3 separate regions of the Homo sapiens genome follow, and all the other regions are linked to region 1. Evidence: promoter capture Hi-C in human tissues and cell types (Jung and others, 2019). All regions are on one chromosome and are shown on one strand. Each heading gives the region's core, a stretch centred on a gene start or on the middle of the fragment in contact. The rest is flanking DNA. Distances are from core to core; before and after follow the strand shown.

The links. The method cuts DNA at HindIII sites, captures the fragments that hold promoters and counts their contacts. A contact is called where the count stands out against the background at its distance.
Region 2: a fragment that was not itself captured here is called in contact with the fragment with the promoter of SHISA9 in region 1 in 5 of the 25 tissues and cell types used here (adrenal gland, dorsolateral prefrontal cortex, mesendoderm cells and 2 more).
Region 3: a fragment that was not itself captured here is called in contact with the fragment with the promoter of SHISA9 in region 1 in 3 of the 25 tissues and cell types used here (H1 embryonic stem cells, dorsolateral prefrontal cortex and mesendoderm cells).

Annotation. Positions count from the first base shown.
Region 1 is chr16:12,899,300-12,904,105 of GRCh38, reverse strand. It overlaps SHISA9 (shisa family member 9), which reads right to left and starts at 2,508. Exons shown (of 5, transcript NM_001145204.3): 1 at 1,479-2,508. The coding sequence starts at 2,041. The HindIII fragment of the contact is 6,671 bases long and covers 1-4,806 here.
Region 2 is chr16:13,055,481-13,060,286 of GRCh38, reverse strand. All of the region lies in intron 2 of SHISA9 (shisa family member 9), which reads right to left. Among named protein-coding and RNA genes, the nearest start is that of SHISA9, 160 kb to the right of the region's middle. The HindIII fragment of the contact is 3,069 bases long and covers 559-3,627 here.
Region 3 is chr16:13,039,725-13,044,530 of GRCh38, reverse strand. All of the region lies in intron 2 of SHISA9 (shisa family member 9), which reads right to left. Among named protein-coding and RNA genes, the nearest start is that of SHISA9, 140 kb to the right of the region's middle. The HindIII fragment of the contact is 5,855 bases long and covers 1-4,806 here.

The DNA.
Region 1 (4,806 bases), core at 1,259-3,758:
CAGAGCTTTACTCCTTTAGTAGGTCAGGGTTTCTTTGAAGCCCCTCGGAGCTTACTTCTGTGCAGCAAGACCCCACCATCCACCCACAGCTCCCTGCTGACCCAAACCGAGAACTTCCTCACCTCTTCCCCCAAAATCTCTTCTCTCTGGGGGAAAAAAAAAAATCTCATCGGATACTCTGCGTATAAATAGAAAATAATTACTAGTGAGGTGGTGATGTTCCTTTGCCTATTTTTGGTGGGTCTCTTTGTTCAGATTTTTTAGGCATCACACGGAGCGCGTGCACACACGCGCGCACACACACAGGCCCCCGGCAGAGGGGGCGCGGAAGAAGGGGTGGGGAGAGGGTAGAGAAAAATACAGCGACTTCGTTGCCCAGACTCTGAAAGGGGACAGTTAAAGCTTATGCCCCAACCATCCAGCTGTTCGCAGGCCGCTAGTCACTCCTTCCACCCCGCCCGCCCGGACCTCACGCCAACCCCCAGCCTCTCCCGCGGCCGGGGGCTTAGTGCTCCTAGTGGCTGCGTCCTCCGCCTCCAAAGTTACGGAGTTTGCGAATCGATTTAGACACTTAAAATAAAAAAAATTTAAAAAAAGCAAAAGGCAAATAGCTCCATTAATCCCCCAAAGCCTTCTCCCATCTGCTGGAACTAGCTGGTGCTGGGGCTTGCATAATGAACAAGGCAAACCCGAAAGTTGACGAAATCAGGGTGCTTGGAAGTGAGGGCGCGCGAGGAGGGGGCTCGGGCCCCCGGAGTCCACGCCAGCCAGGGCAAGGGGCTCAATCTGCAGCGATGGCCACGGCCCCGGGCAGGGAGAAGTGGTGGCCAGAGAAAGGGATGAGGTGGGTAAAGGGGCGGGGGCAGCTGAGGTCCCAAATCCAGGGACGGCGAAGCTCTGGGAAAGCGAGGCGGCCGCTCCAAGCAAGGCTTTTGTTCTCGCCCTCCCCTCACTCCACCTCCCTCGTCTCCTTTTCGCGAGTCGTACGAGTTGCAGGCGGCACTCACTCTGACCCTCCCTCCTTCACACACGCGCGCTCGGGCTCACACACGCCCCCCTCCCCTTTCGGGCTCGCCTGCCCCTGTTTACCAAAAAGCTAGCACCTGGAATCCGAGGGGTGCCATGGACCCTCTCCCCAAACCCGAAGATTTCGGGGCCACGGGCTCCCAGGCTACGTGTCTCAAGTCCGCCTCAGTCACCAGCGGGAGGAGGCGGCCAGAGGGTGAGGGAGCAGAGTCACACACACACACACACACGCTCACACACACACGAACACGCTCAGACCCACACCTGTGCTGAGCCCAGCGCCCCTTCTCCGTGTTCCAAGCCGAAGTTGGCTTCCCGGTGACATCCCCCAGCGGAGAGGCTGGGATGCGGGGAGCGGGGACCGTGGGGAGCGCCATTGCCTGGGGGAAGGTGGGGAGGAGAGAGCAGGGAGAGCGAAGCCCCGAGGGGAGGGCGAAGGGGAGGCAGCCCACCTGGACATGTGCTCCCTTTGGGGCCGGTGCGCTTTCTCCAGCCCCAGCTTGGTGAAGATGCCCACGAGCACCATGACGGCCACCACCCCGCAGATGATGTAGACGATCAGGTTGGTCTTGTCCTTGGTGGGGTCGTGCAAGGGGTCGTCCTTGCGGGCGGGGGGCTTGCCGGTGTTGAGCCAGAGCGGCGTGTCGTAGTTGGTGCAGGTGCTTTGGTTCAGTCGCCGCTTCTTAAACGTGCAGCAGAACCGGAAGCCACAAGTCCCGCAGCAGAAGATGAAGTCGCCCGAGCTGCAGTTGAACGGCGGGTCCCACTGGCCCATGACATCGAAGTAGCCCCGGCAGAAGTCCGGCGTGGGCGCCCGGGTCGGGGGCGCGTCCGATGCCTCAGCGCCCTCGCTGGCCTCTCCGGAGGCGGCCCCGGAGCGGTTGCCCCCCGCCAGCAGCAACACGCCGCCCAGTTGCGCCAGCTGCCCGTGTCCCGCTCGCTCCTGCGCCCGGCACACGCGGGCGCACAGCTCGGTGAGGAAGCAACCGAGGAGCAGCCGAAGGACGCGGCGCATGGTGTCTCCCAGCCCGGGCTCGGCCGCTCGGCCGCCGCTGGAGCCTCTGCGGCCGCCTCTCGAGGCGCGGCCGAAGCTGCCGAGGCTGCTGCCGGGAGCTGCGAGCCGCCGCGGGCCGCACATGCAGGGAGCGGCGCGGGGCGCTCGGTGGTCGGCGGCCACTGCGCTCGGCTCAGCCCGCGTTCGCCTCAGCCCGCGTTCGCCTCCAGCGCGCCGCGCGCCGAGGGGCCGGCCGGGGAGGAGCGCGCCCGGCCGGGCGGGGGGAGGATGAGCGGGGTCAAGCGCGGGGTGCAGGTCCGGCCGGCCACTGGGTGAGGCGGGGGTGGAGAGCAGAGGAGAATCGGGCTGGCAGCGCCTAGCCTTGGCCGGCAGCCCCGGACTGGCCGCCCCTAGCCCTCTCGCAGTATCCCTCTCACCTCACCAGCTCGCCAAGTGCGCTGAAGAGAGCGAAGCGACACTTGTGGAATGAAGGGAGGGCAGGAGGGAAGGGGGAGGGGGAGGAGGGCGGGCAGAGGAGGCGCGGGTGGGGGGGGGCGGGCGCGAGCTCTAGAGGGGCGGGGGCGCGGGGAAGAGGTGACTAGAGCGGGAGCTAGCTGGGGGGCGTGCAGAGCTGAGCCAGGCGAGCGGACGGGGAGGAGCGAGCTCGGCAGCAGCCGAGGCTAGAGGAGCCGCTCGGATTTCCAGGCAGGTGGAAAACCGCGGCAGGACCTCCCGCGCCCTCTCTGGGTAGGAGGCGCGGCTCAGCCCTGTCCAGAGCGCAGAGGCGGCTCAGCTCGTAGCTTTTTCACCGGTGCGTGTGCAGGAGCGGCGGCCGAAATCTGTGCATCAGGGGAAGGATGACTCGGAGAGGATGGGGACAGACTAAATGGCTTTCACTCCAAGACAGACTGGGTGCAGTCTGGTCAGGATCGCCCCTCCCAGGCGTGCGGGGCCTCCTTGCCCTTCCCGGCTGCGCCCTCCAGCCCTGAGCGCAACCCGCATGGCTCAACTCTCTGGGCCCAAGCAAGGACCCAGGCGGAGCTGGGAAGGACAGGTGGCAAGCCCCTGAGCCAGGGATAAGCACCCTCCGGGGGAGAGGGGCTCGGGATGAACGAATCAAAGAAGGTCGGGGGTAAGAGGGGACAGCCGAACAAGGCCGAGGCTATGGCGTGTCCTGGAAGGTCTTTCCTTGGAAGTCCCCCAGCCTCTCGAACCTGCCGCTTTCTGTCCCTCTTCGCCCCCGCAGCGTTTTCTGCGCTCCACAGGAGGGAACACCGCGGCGCCGCCTCTGCGCTCCCGGATCTGGCGCAGCGCAAGGCCTGGGCACCCAGCCTCAGCCACCCTCCCGGACCTGGAGCCCGCGCATCGGTCTCTGGAGCTGGCTGGCCCCTGTCCCCACGGATCCCCCCGGAAATCCTCACCGGGGGCTGCAGAGCTCTGCCTTGCTTCCTCAGCTTCCAGCCTCCCGTCTCCTCTGTGTTTCCAAATCTGCCCTCTCTCTCCTAGCGAATTCCAGCTCCCCGGAGGCCCTCTCTCATTTCTCCCACCTCTTTCTCTCCTCTGCTTGAATTTGACTCCAGTAGCCCCAAAACAGGATTTGCACCAAAGCTGCTACACCAAATTTAGATCTCCCCACGCCCCGGCGTTTTGTTTTTTAATTGCATTAACTAAGTATACACTTTGCAGGCTGCTAGGCGATTTGCAAGGAGATAATGTTTCCACAACCCTCCTCTCCACTTGGCTGCAGTCAAGGGCTTCTCAGGGCATCTTCAGAGAACGAAAAGTTGGGCGACATGTAAAATGGTTTACTAGGGTCCCCTGAATTGAGAAAGGGTGGGAGGATTTATTGGGACTCTGTTGCAAGTTTTCTCCAAATGAGAAGTTTGGCTAATCGCCCCTTCTCTTTGAAAAAAAAAGTCACATTTTGATGTTTCAAAAAAGATTTGCAAACACACAGCAAGACATTGACAGGGCATACCCAGGAGTATTATATTCCAAACCCATCTGGGGAAGGTATGAACACGTTTAATCCAGATTCACCAGATTCATTATAATAGAATCCCCAAAATAGGAGAGTATGGAAAGTCTGTCATGACTGGCAACCCACGCCCACCACCACCTTGTGAGTCCTACAAACACAAGCACTGGTGTGTGAGAGCTAATGAGAGCTGACATTTATTCAGTGCCTGCAACATACTCACTAAGCTTGCTTTTTCTAAAAGCAGCTCCTCAAGAAAGCTTAGAGCAGTGCCCAGCGTATAGCAGACAGTCTGGAAATATTTGCTGAACCACCGAGTGACTGGTTTCATGTAACTCTCTCTCCCTTAGGTAATAGTACCAGGCCCACACAACAGAGGGAGAGAATGAGCCCCAAAGCAGTTAAACCAGTTGCCCAAGTAGCTCTGCCAAATGAGTGCCAGAATTGACATTTGACCCAAGAAATTTGAGTCCAGAAACTGCCCTCCAGCCACTACATGAAATAGGCCTCCAAACTTTCTGTCTACCTCCTACTATATTATGTATTTGCGTTTTCGTCTGTTTGCCTGCACTGAGATGTGAACTGTGTAATGGAGAGGGCCTCGACTCCCATACCATGTCCCCAGCCCCTAGAACCCAGGCATACGGAGCTGCCTTGCGGGTCCATGGCTGCGCCCTCCAGCCCTGTGCGCAACTCCAGGGATTTGAGCCTTTGGGGTTGTGCGGGGCTGCAGGGTGCAGCCCCGGGGTACAGTTCTAAGCATGGTAAACACTCAAAAAAATGCATGGGTTGTATTAATTAATTTATG
Region 2 (4,806 bases), core at 844-3,343, 160 kb before region 1:
CCTTCCTCACCAGCAGCTTCTGTCAGAGAAAGGAAGGAGAATGAAATCTAAATGGTTTTCCCAGGAACGCTGTCCCTCCAGCTTCAATAATGTGGCACATCGGGGCGCATTGAGAGAACAGAGGAAACCGGCACCTTGGAGCCAGGCCCGTCTGGGATTTAGTGGAGCCACCTGCACTTAACTGTCATGTGACTCTGGGTGAAGGTCATGATCTCTCTGAATACTGGTTACCTCGCCTGTCAAATGGGGGTAATAATCAGAATTACTGCCTGTATTTGTTTGCTAGGGCTGTTAAGATAAAGAACCACAGACAGGATGGCTTAAATGACAGAAATCTATTGTCTCACGGTTCTGGAGTCGGAAAGTCTAAGATCAAGGTGTGGGCAGGGTGGGTCCCTTTGGAGGCCTCTCTCCTGGGCTTGTCAATGGCTGCCTTCTCCCTGTGTCTCTTCACATCACCTTTCCTTTGTCCAAACCTCCCCTTTTGTAAGAACATCAGTCATACTGGATTGGGGCTTACCCTAACGACCTCATTCTAACTTGAGGTCAGAATGTGGTTATATAATAATATCGGAATGTGATATTATTTGCAGATAGACTCTTCTTTTTATTTTAAGTTCAAGTTTACATGTGCAGGATGTGCAGGTTTGTTACATAGGTAAACGTGTGCCATGGTGGTTTGCTGTACCTATCAACCCATCACCTAGGTATGAAGACCCCCCGCATGTATTTGCTGTTTATCCTGATGCTCTCCCTCCCCACCTGAACCTTCTGACAGGCCCCAGTATGTGATGTCCCCCACCCACATGTCCACATGTTTACAGATAGACTCTGTACCTCTGTAAATAGTCTATCTGATAGGCCAGGTGCGGTGGCTCACGCCTGTAATCCCAGCACTTTGGGAGGCCGAGGTGGGCAGATCACGAGGTCAGGAGATTGAGACCATCCTGGCTAACACAGTGAAACTCCGTCTCTACTAAAAATACAAAAAATTAGCCAGGCATGGTGGCGGCCACCTGTACTCCCAGCTACTCGGGAGGCTGAGGCAAGAGAATGGCATGAACCCGGGAGGGGGAGCTTGCAATGAGCCGAGATCACGCCACTGCACTCCAGCCTGGGCGACAGAGTGAGACTCTGTCTCAAAAAAAAAAAAAAAAAAAAAAAAGATAGAGTTTTTACAGAGGCAAAGAATAATATCAAATAATATCACATTCAGAGGTACTGGGGGCCAAGGCTTTAACATAGGAGTTGGGGGAACACACCATTCAATTCCTAATTATTCTAAGAATGTCTTACTGGTTAATACAGAAAATGCATATGGAAACACCTTCCCAAATGTCCACCCCCCAAACCCACACTCATCACGTGTCTTGGCCAAATGGTCTAGAATTATGTACTTCCCCTTGCTGAGCTATTGGTTAGTTAGTGAGCAACGGTATTATGTGTGCTGGTCCTGCCTGGATCCCTAGCTATGGGAGACATCTCCCACCACACATACACATTCACACACACACACACACACACACACACACACAAATACACCACACCACTGGTCAATGACATGTAGCCATCATGGGGGATGGCAGCCCTGAACCTGTACAAAAGCTTTCAACTACCTCTCCTCGAAAGATGACACTTTTCCCTTACATTGGGCTTGGAGTGGAAGACTAGAAGAGAACTTTTGTGGCTCTAGGATTTTATTCTGAGCTCCACCCCTTCTCAGCATCACTGCTGTCTTCCTTTCCTCCCTAGGCCTCACTTTGCTCATCTGGAAAATAGGAATAATGGTAAGTCATGGTAGTTGTGGGAGTAAATGAAGGAAGTAGTGTAAAGAGCCTCATGGCTCAGGGATGGCCGTAGCAGTTACTTGTCAACATGAGTCCCCCTTGTTATAATCACCAGGGAGGCCCTGAGTAATAAGAGGGCACAGAGCAGTAGGTACCCTGGGTCCCAATTTCAGCCAATGCTAAGAATCACCCCTTCCCCATAGAGGCACATTCTGTAACTCTAGAACTAGTCCTGGGAACCTGCATTTTTAACAAGCTCTCAGGTATTGTATGACCAGGCAATAAGCAAGCCAAATTGTTATTCACTCAATCACTGGAAAAGCATCTTTTTAAAAAAAAGTTCATATGCCTGGGCTTTGTCCCACCCCAGCCCTATTGCATCAGAATCTCTAGGGAGCAAGATTGGCATGCTTGTATGTGGAAACTGCTCTCCATCCATTTCTGAGGTGCACTGTTGATTAAGAATCACTTATTTAACATATTCACCATGGAATATTATACAGCCATAAAAAGGAACGAGATCATGTCCTTTGCAGGAGCATGGATGGAGCTTGAAGCCATTATCCTCAGCAAACTAACACAGGAACAGACAACTAAACACTGGATGTTCTCATTCATAAGTGGGAGCTGAACAATGAGAACACATGGACACAGGGAGGGGAATATCACACAATGGGGCCTGTGGTGGTAGGGAGGAGAGAGCATCAGGATAAAAAGTTAAGGCATGCAGGGCTTCATACCTAGGTAATGGGTTGATAGGTGCAGCAAACCACCATGGCACACGTTTACCTATGTAACAAACCTGCACATTCTGCACATGTATCGCAGAACTTAAATAAAATTAAATTAAAAATAAAAAAGTATCACTTATTTAGAGCAAGCAGTTCTCAAACTATGGTATGCATCAGATCCCTTCGGGAGTGTATTTAAAATGCTGAGTCCTGGGCTCTTACTCCCCAAAATCTGATTTGATGGATCTATGGTGAAGCCCAAGAATCTACATTTTAATAAACCTCCCTGGAGATTGCAGTGAGCCAAGATCGCCCCATTGCACTCCAGCCTGGACTATAAGAGCAAAACTCTGTCAATAAATAAATAAATAAACCCCCCAGGCAATTAGGATACGGTGAATCCGACACTCCCTACTTTGAAAACATTCCCTTCTAAGCTTGTTGGATCCTAAGGAGGAACAGAGCACCTGCCTTCCATAAATGAGAGTCCCATCCCATCCATCCAGGGCTGTCTTGTGAAAGGCAAGCCTAGCTCAAATCCATGAACGTTCTATTGTTCGGCTCCCTGGAGGCTGCCACAGCTGGAGGACTGGCCCTCTGAGCCTCACCTGGGTACAACCCTCCAGCCCCAGGCAGGAAGGGCATTACATGCTCAGCAGCCCCCTCTGCTAGCGGGCCTATAGCACCGAGGCCCATTCCTTTAGCTTCCAGTTTGTATTTTCCTTTTGCAATATGCTTTCTGGATCGGGGGCGCCCCATACTCCCCTTTGCTAGCCTCACAGCTAACATACCACAGAGCCTGTGTTCAATCCAAACCTACACACCTGCCAGATTCACTATCTCCCTAAGCCCCGCTGTGTCTACTTTCTCTCACTTCCTCCTGCTAACAGCGAGGTGTTAACCAATCCTGAGAATGAACGCTTCGTGGCATGAATTCAAGTACCCTTTTCCCACCCTAATAAGCTAATGCCTATGTAGCACTCACTGACTGCTGTGTTTGGCAGTCCTTTTAAGCACTCTGCATACATTGACTCACTGAACCCTGACCACAACACTGTGAAGCGGAAGGCAAGTTTTATGGGAAAGGAAACTGAGGTACAGACAGGTGAGGTGACTTAGCTAAGACCACACAGCTCCTAAGGAGCAGGCCCTGAGTCTGAACTCAGACAATCTGGCCCAGAGTCATGCTATTTATTACCCAATAAATCCTTCCAACCCATAACTGATATTATTCTAGTCTTCCCTTCAGTGTATGTGTCCCTCCCCATACCTAACACTGGTCTACATGTCTGACCTGATGTCTGTAGGTGATTCCAACATAAAGAGATGGATCAACACAGATCTCATTGACCCAGGGAAGTGGATTTGAGGAGCAGGACTTTATCTCCTTGCCTTCAGGCCTCTATTGCATAATTTGACTTTTCCCTAGACAAACCATAGTTTGCCTCCACCCTGTAAAATGTAGCTCTTCTTCTACCAATGCCTCTTTGATTCAAGTATACACCCCCAGCACACTTCTGTCATTTAGTGCTGTGTCATGCATGCATGCTTCCTCTGTTCTCCTGCTGCCCTGGGATAAAGTGTTCAGAGTTGAGCCCATTTAAGCGCATGGCCCCTATATCCTATATATTAATTCAGCCAATATTTCCCAAGCACCTGCTATGTGTCAGGCCCTGAACTGTGCCCTCAGAGGTCCATGCTGGGTCTCTGCCCTCCTACAGTTCACAGTCCACATGACAGAGGCGGATCTGCCACCCACTGTGCATACTTGCGTCCCAAGCTTCATGAAAACCACATGTGTGACATCAGCAACAGTCTGTGCATCTAGCTGGCAACTTCCCTGTGGGCATCACTCAGCAAAGGCTTGTTGGACTTACTGGCTGTTAGCAAGGCAAGTTGGTAATTTGTTCCATCACTCTCACCTAAGCACGAGATTTCTTAAAAAACAATACATCTCGGTTGAGTAATGAGTTAAGGGAATATCAGCTTTGCTGCATCCTCAGTAATTCTGATGACTTCTCTGTTGCCCTAGAATGCATTTTAGTGTTTCCCTGGGTGGCACACAGCCTCCAGAGTGCTATGAGGGAAGAGGGTGAGTGGGCATGGAGGGAGAATTTAGAATTCTGCTCAGCTCTTGTAATTCAGAGTGGGATGCTGGCTCGTACTTCAATGGGTCTGACAAAGTTACATTACAGTGCTCCTGGAATTGGAATTCAAACTGTGAGAGCCAAGACACTTTCTCATGATCACCAAGAAGACTGTAAGGAAACAGAGTCTTTGGGGTACAG
Region 3 (4,806 bases), core at 1,445-3,944, 140 kb before region 1:
TGGATCTGTGCCCACTAATCTGTAAGATCTATGTCCATTTCATTCACTCCCCTATGGCCAACACTTATTAGGCACTCAATAAAACATTTGTCTTGTAAAAACAATCATTTTATGGATGAGAAACCGAGGTTCAGAAAGGTTCAATAACTTGCCCAAGGTCAGAGAACAAGTAAGTGGCGGGGCTGGAACCCAAACTGATGTCTTTCTAAATCCAAGTCCTTCCTACCACAGAGGAATTTGGTGCAAAAGTAATCACAGTTTTTGCCATTCATGTATTGGGAAAATTATTTTTGCACCAACCTGATATCTGTAAGTGCCACGTGGATTCTACATTTGCGTGTCTGAAATGGGGGAACCCAATTAGACCTCCTTTAGGACCCCTTCCCTAGAGGATTTTCAGATTTGACCTCATGAAACAGACCACAGGTTGAGTCTTCAAAATCCCATAAGCCAGTTTCAAACTCTAGCCAGAGGCTTCTTTTCTAACTGGGGGACCACAAACAGGCTAAGTTTCTTTGGCCAGGCTAAGTTCTGGAAAGTGATACAAAGAGAAATAAAATATTATTCCAGCCTAGGATGAAGCAATATAGATAATCAAGTAAGGACAAGGAGAAGCATAATAAAGTGAAGCAGAGAAGTGAGCCATGGTTACAGGACCCCAGAAGGACAACGAATAGATCCACTGGGAGAGATGGCAGGGGATATCCAGGAGAGAGGAATTTCAGGCTGAGCTCTGAAGGATCAGTCAGTAAAATGTCAATAAATCTAAGCTATTAAGGCATTCTAGGCAAAGAGAACAGCAGAAGACCTGAAGTGTAAAGTGCATGGCTCTGGACTACTGAGCATCAGATCAAGGAGGGATGCAGCTCTGAGGATATCAGGACAGTGAGTTCAAGCTGTGGGAGGTTAAGGAGTTCCCACCGCAGGAGTAGAGATGACAACTTTGGGTCTTCATATTAGGTTAGTGCAAAAGTAATTGTGGTTTTTGCAATTAATATAACGTGTTTTGCATTAAATGTCATGGCAAAAACTGCAATTACTTTTGCACCAACCTGATAGAAACAGGAGAATTTAAAAATCCAATTCAGGAATCATAGAGAAACCACAAATACCCTCCCGTGGTGGGAAGTAGCTAGCTGTTTACTAAGCCCGTTTCTCTTTCCTCCTGGGTGTTCAGCTAGACAATATTTCCCAGACTCCCTTGCAGTTAGGTGTGGCCATATGACTGAGTTCTGCCCAGCAGAATATGGATGGAACTGATATATCCACTTCCGGGACAGGCCTGTTGAGACCTCCCACGGGATATGCCACTCCTCTGACCTCACCATTCCCCCCACCACTTACTGGTTAGATGTTGACACTCAGGTCAATGTTGAAAGCCACATGATAAAGTTGGAAGTTCCTCCATCATCCTGGGTCCTTGAGTGACTGCATGGAGCAGAGCATCCCATGTCTACCTCTACCCTCCAACTGCTGTCCAGGCACCCCGAATTGAACTTTATGTGAATGCAAAATTCATTTCTTTAGTATTAAGCCCCTGAAACTCCAGGGTTTATCTGTTCTAGAAGCCAGCATTACCTTAACTAATATGCCCCTTGAATTAGTTTATTCTATAAATATTCTTTGAGCCTCTACCGTGTGCCAGGGATGCTTCTAGGCATTAGTGATACAGTGGCAGCCAAGGAAAAGGTTTCTGCTCTTATGTAACTTTAGTGGGAGGAGACCGACAATAAACAAGTAAACAAATAAGATAGTTTTTGCCAGTGATAGAGCTAAAAAGGAAACTTAAAAAGATGGTGTGACTAGAGAATAGGGGGAAGGGCACATATCTTAATTAGGGCAATCATTTCCCTCAGACTCTTATCTGAAATACAAAACTTCATTTTAGTACCCACAAACATTCTAGACACCAAAGGACCAGAAAATCATCACAAAGGGGGCACTCTTGAGATCACTTCTATTAAAAAATTAGACACTCAATTCAGAGGAAACCAACTGTTCTTGGCTTGGGAAGACTTTGATGAGAACAACTGAGGCATTCATTTGTTGAGAGCCTGGTAAAATACTTACAAAGAGTGTCTCTGTTTGGGAAGCCTGGGTCAGCTATATTTTGTCCCATCCAATGCTACTGCATTTTCCATTCATTGCAGCCAAGCAAATTGGCCAATAATCCTACACACTAGCTCCTGAAGGTACAAATTCTGTCAATGAGCAGAAAGAAGCCACAAGCATGGTTTCAGTCTTTTACTGAGGGGCAGGTAACGAGTGCCTTCTGGAAGCTAATCAACATGAACACACAGTTCCTGGCTGAGGTAAAGGTAGCGACCAGTGCAAGATTCCCAGTGTCCTTGTGGCCACTGTGTTTTGCAGACTGTCTACCCAACAGATCAGGGAACAGCTTGGCAATAATCCCAGTTATTACAATACAGAACTGCCTCCATAGTTGTTGGTAATTGCCACTGCCCTGAGAACACTAAATATCCCCCTGATTAGCCAGCTGCTACAATCCCTCCTCAAAATCCCCTTTGCCTCTCACAATCCAGAAACCAAAAAGTCAAAGCCGGGTATTAGGCAAGAGGGAGAGGGGGAGCCCCAAGACTTTGATGATTCGATGGTACTCATATGTGCTAAATATTCTTCTTATTACCCCTGGAGCTACATCAGAATCCCCAGGGAGTTTATTAGAATTGCAGATTCCTGAGTCCCACCAGAGACCTACTAAATTGGAATCCATGGCAGTGAGGTCCTGGAATTGGTATTTTATCAGCCTTCCCCAGTGAGCCTCATGTACCCTACAGTTTGAGAACTGCTGGCCCAGGCACGGCTCTGGCATTTTGCTAAATGGAGGGTGAGCTCATTTGTGCATGCAGCTCATCAGATTAGTGGTTTTGAAACTTGATCAGAATGCTTTCTTAAAATCAACTCTTCCTCAGGATTTCAAAACACAAAATAAATCAGAGGGTAGCTACATATAGCCCCTTGTTTGCAAGTCCAACTTGAGTGGCTGGTAGGAATAGAAAGCAGTCTACAGAAGCCATATCAGGGGATACGTGGCTCCAACAGGGAATAGAACAGCCAAAGAGAGGACAAAGGTTTGCACTGGAGGAAGAAGCAGGCTGTTACAAAGCCCTGATGAATGGCAGAGCAGACAGTCAGGGATAGGCCAAGCCCAGGGTAGAGACAACAGCAGGAGTCCTAAGCCTGGGTCAGCCATTATGAAAACTAGAGCCCAAGGCACAAAGAGAGATCAGGTTGTTCAAGTAAGCAGTCTCCATTTTCCCAGAGAGAAAACATTGAGGAAACAAAATTTATTTGTGGGGGCCTGCACTCCTTCTGTGGACCATTAAGCTGCTCTGATAAAATACCATTTTGAACACAACACATCCAGCTCTGAGATGTTGGGAGGCGAAGGTTCATGCATTTTGTTCAGTGCTGCACCCCTGGTACTTAGCCCAGGATCTGCAAAGGCTCAGCCCCCAACGACACAGTACTTGTTAAATGAATGAATGGATGAAGGGCTTTGTGTCTACTGCAGGAACCCTCTGAAGCAGAAGCACACGTTTCCAGGTTGGGGGTCACTTGGGTGAGACTCAGGACCCCACACTTGCTCTCCATTCTGAGAGCCACCAAAGTCAGGCTGGTCCTAGAAAAAGGCTTGCAAAGCTCAACAGGGCAACTTAAAACAAACAATGTTTTCTTAGAACTCTCTACAAACCAGGTGTATTATTCACTTGCACCAAAAATCTACACCTAAGGGCCCTCAGACCTTAGCAGGATAGGAAGAAAGAAAAGAAGCTTTTCTTTACCAAATGACTCTTCAATATTTTTCAATTTCAAAATTCTACTGGGGCATTGTATGCATTAAGCACTGCACTAAACACTGGTGATAGAGCAAGGGGGAAAAGTAGATGAGATCCCTGCTCTCTTGAAGTTTACATTCTAATAAGCAAGTCAGGCCATAAACATGAAAACATGCAAATGAGTGAGATCATTTGGAATGTAATCAATGCTATGAGAATAAATTAAACAGAGAAATGCAAAAGAAAGAGACTGGCAGGGCAGAAAGCTTTTTAGAAAAGGAGGCCATTTGTAGAAGTGGCATTTGAGCTGAAATCTGAATTACAAGAAGAGGGTCATGCAAACATCAGAGGGCATAACACACCCAGCAGTGGTAACAGCCAGTGCAAAGGCCCTGGGGTAGAGAGAAGCACCATGTGTTTAAGGAATAGAAAGCCAACCAATGTGACTGGAACTGGGTAGTCAAGGCAAAAGGAGGGATAGAAGAGCAGGAGCAAGAAGCAGAGATCAGATCAAGCACACTTCTCAGGGCACAGAGAGGAGTTTGCAGGTGGATGGTTTGAGTGGAGTGGTAACATGATGTGATTTGGTTTTAAATGACAATTCTGGCTCTCGTGTAGAGAATGGACTGGAGAAAGGAGCAAGAGAGAAATCAGGGAAATCTGGGAGGAGGCCTTGACTTGGACCAAGAGGAAATGACCTTGACTTGGACCAAGATGGTGCCAGAAAGTGTAAGAAATGTGGATATATTAAGTGGGTGGAGTTGGCAGGACTCAGGGGAGAGAGGAATCAAGCATGCCAGCCACCACTGTGGTGATGAAGAATGGCTTATCATCCCCATTTTTCAGATTAGGAAACTGAAGTCCAGGTCACACAGCTGTAAACTGTCAGGGCCTGGGTCTGAAGCCGGGTCTGAGTGACTTCAGAACCCTCGTGTTCCTTCCTTTCTGTTTTCTTTAGATGGAACTTTTGCTCTTGGCAGTCTTTGACAAAGAACAGGTGTGTGGG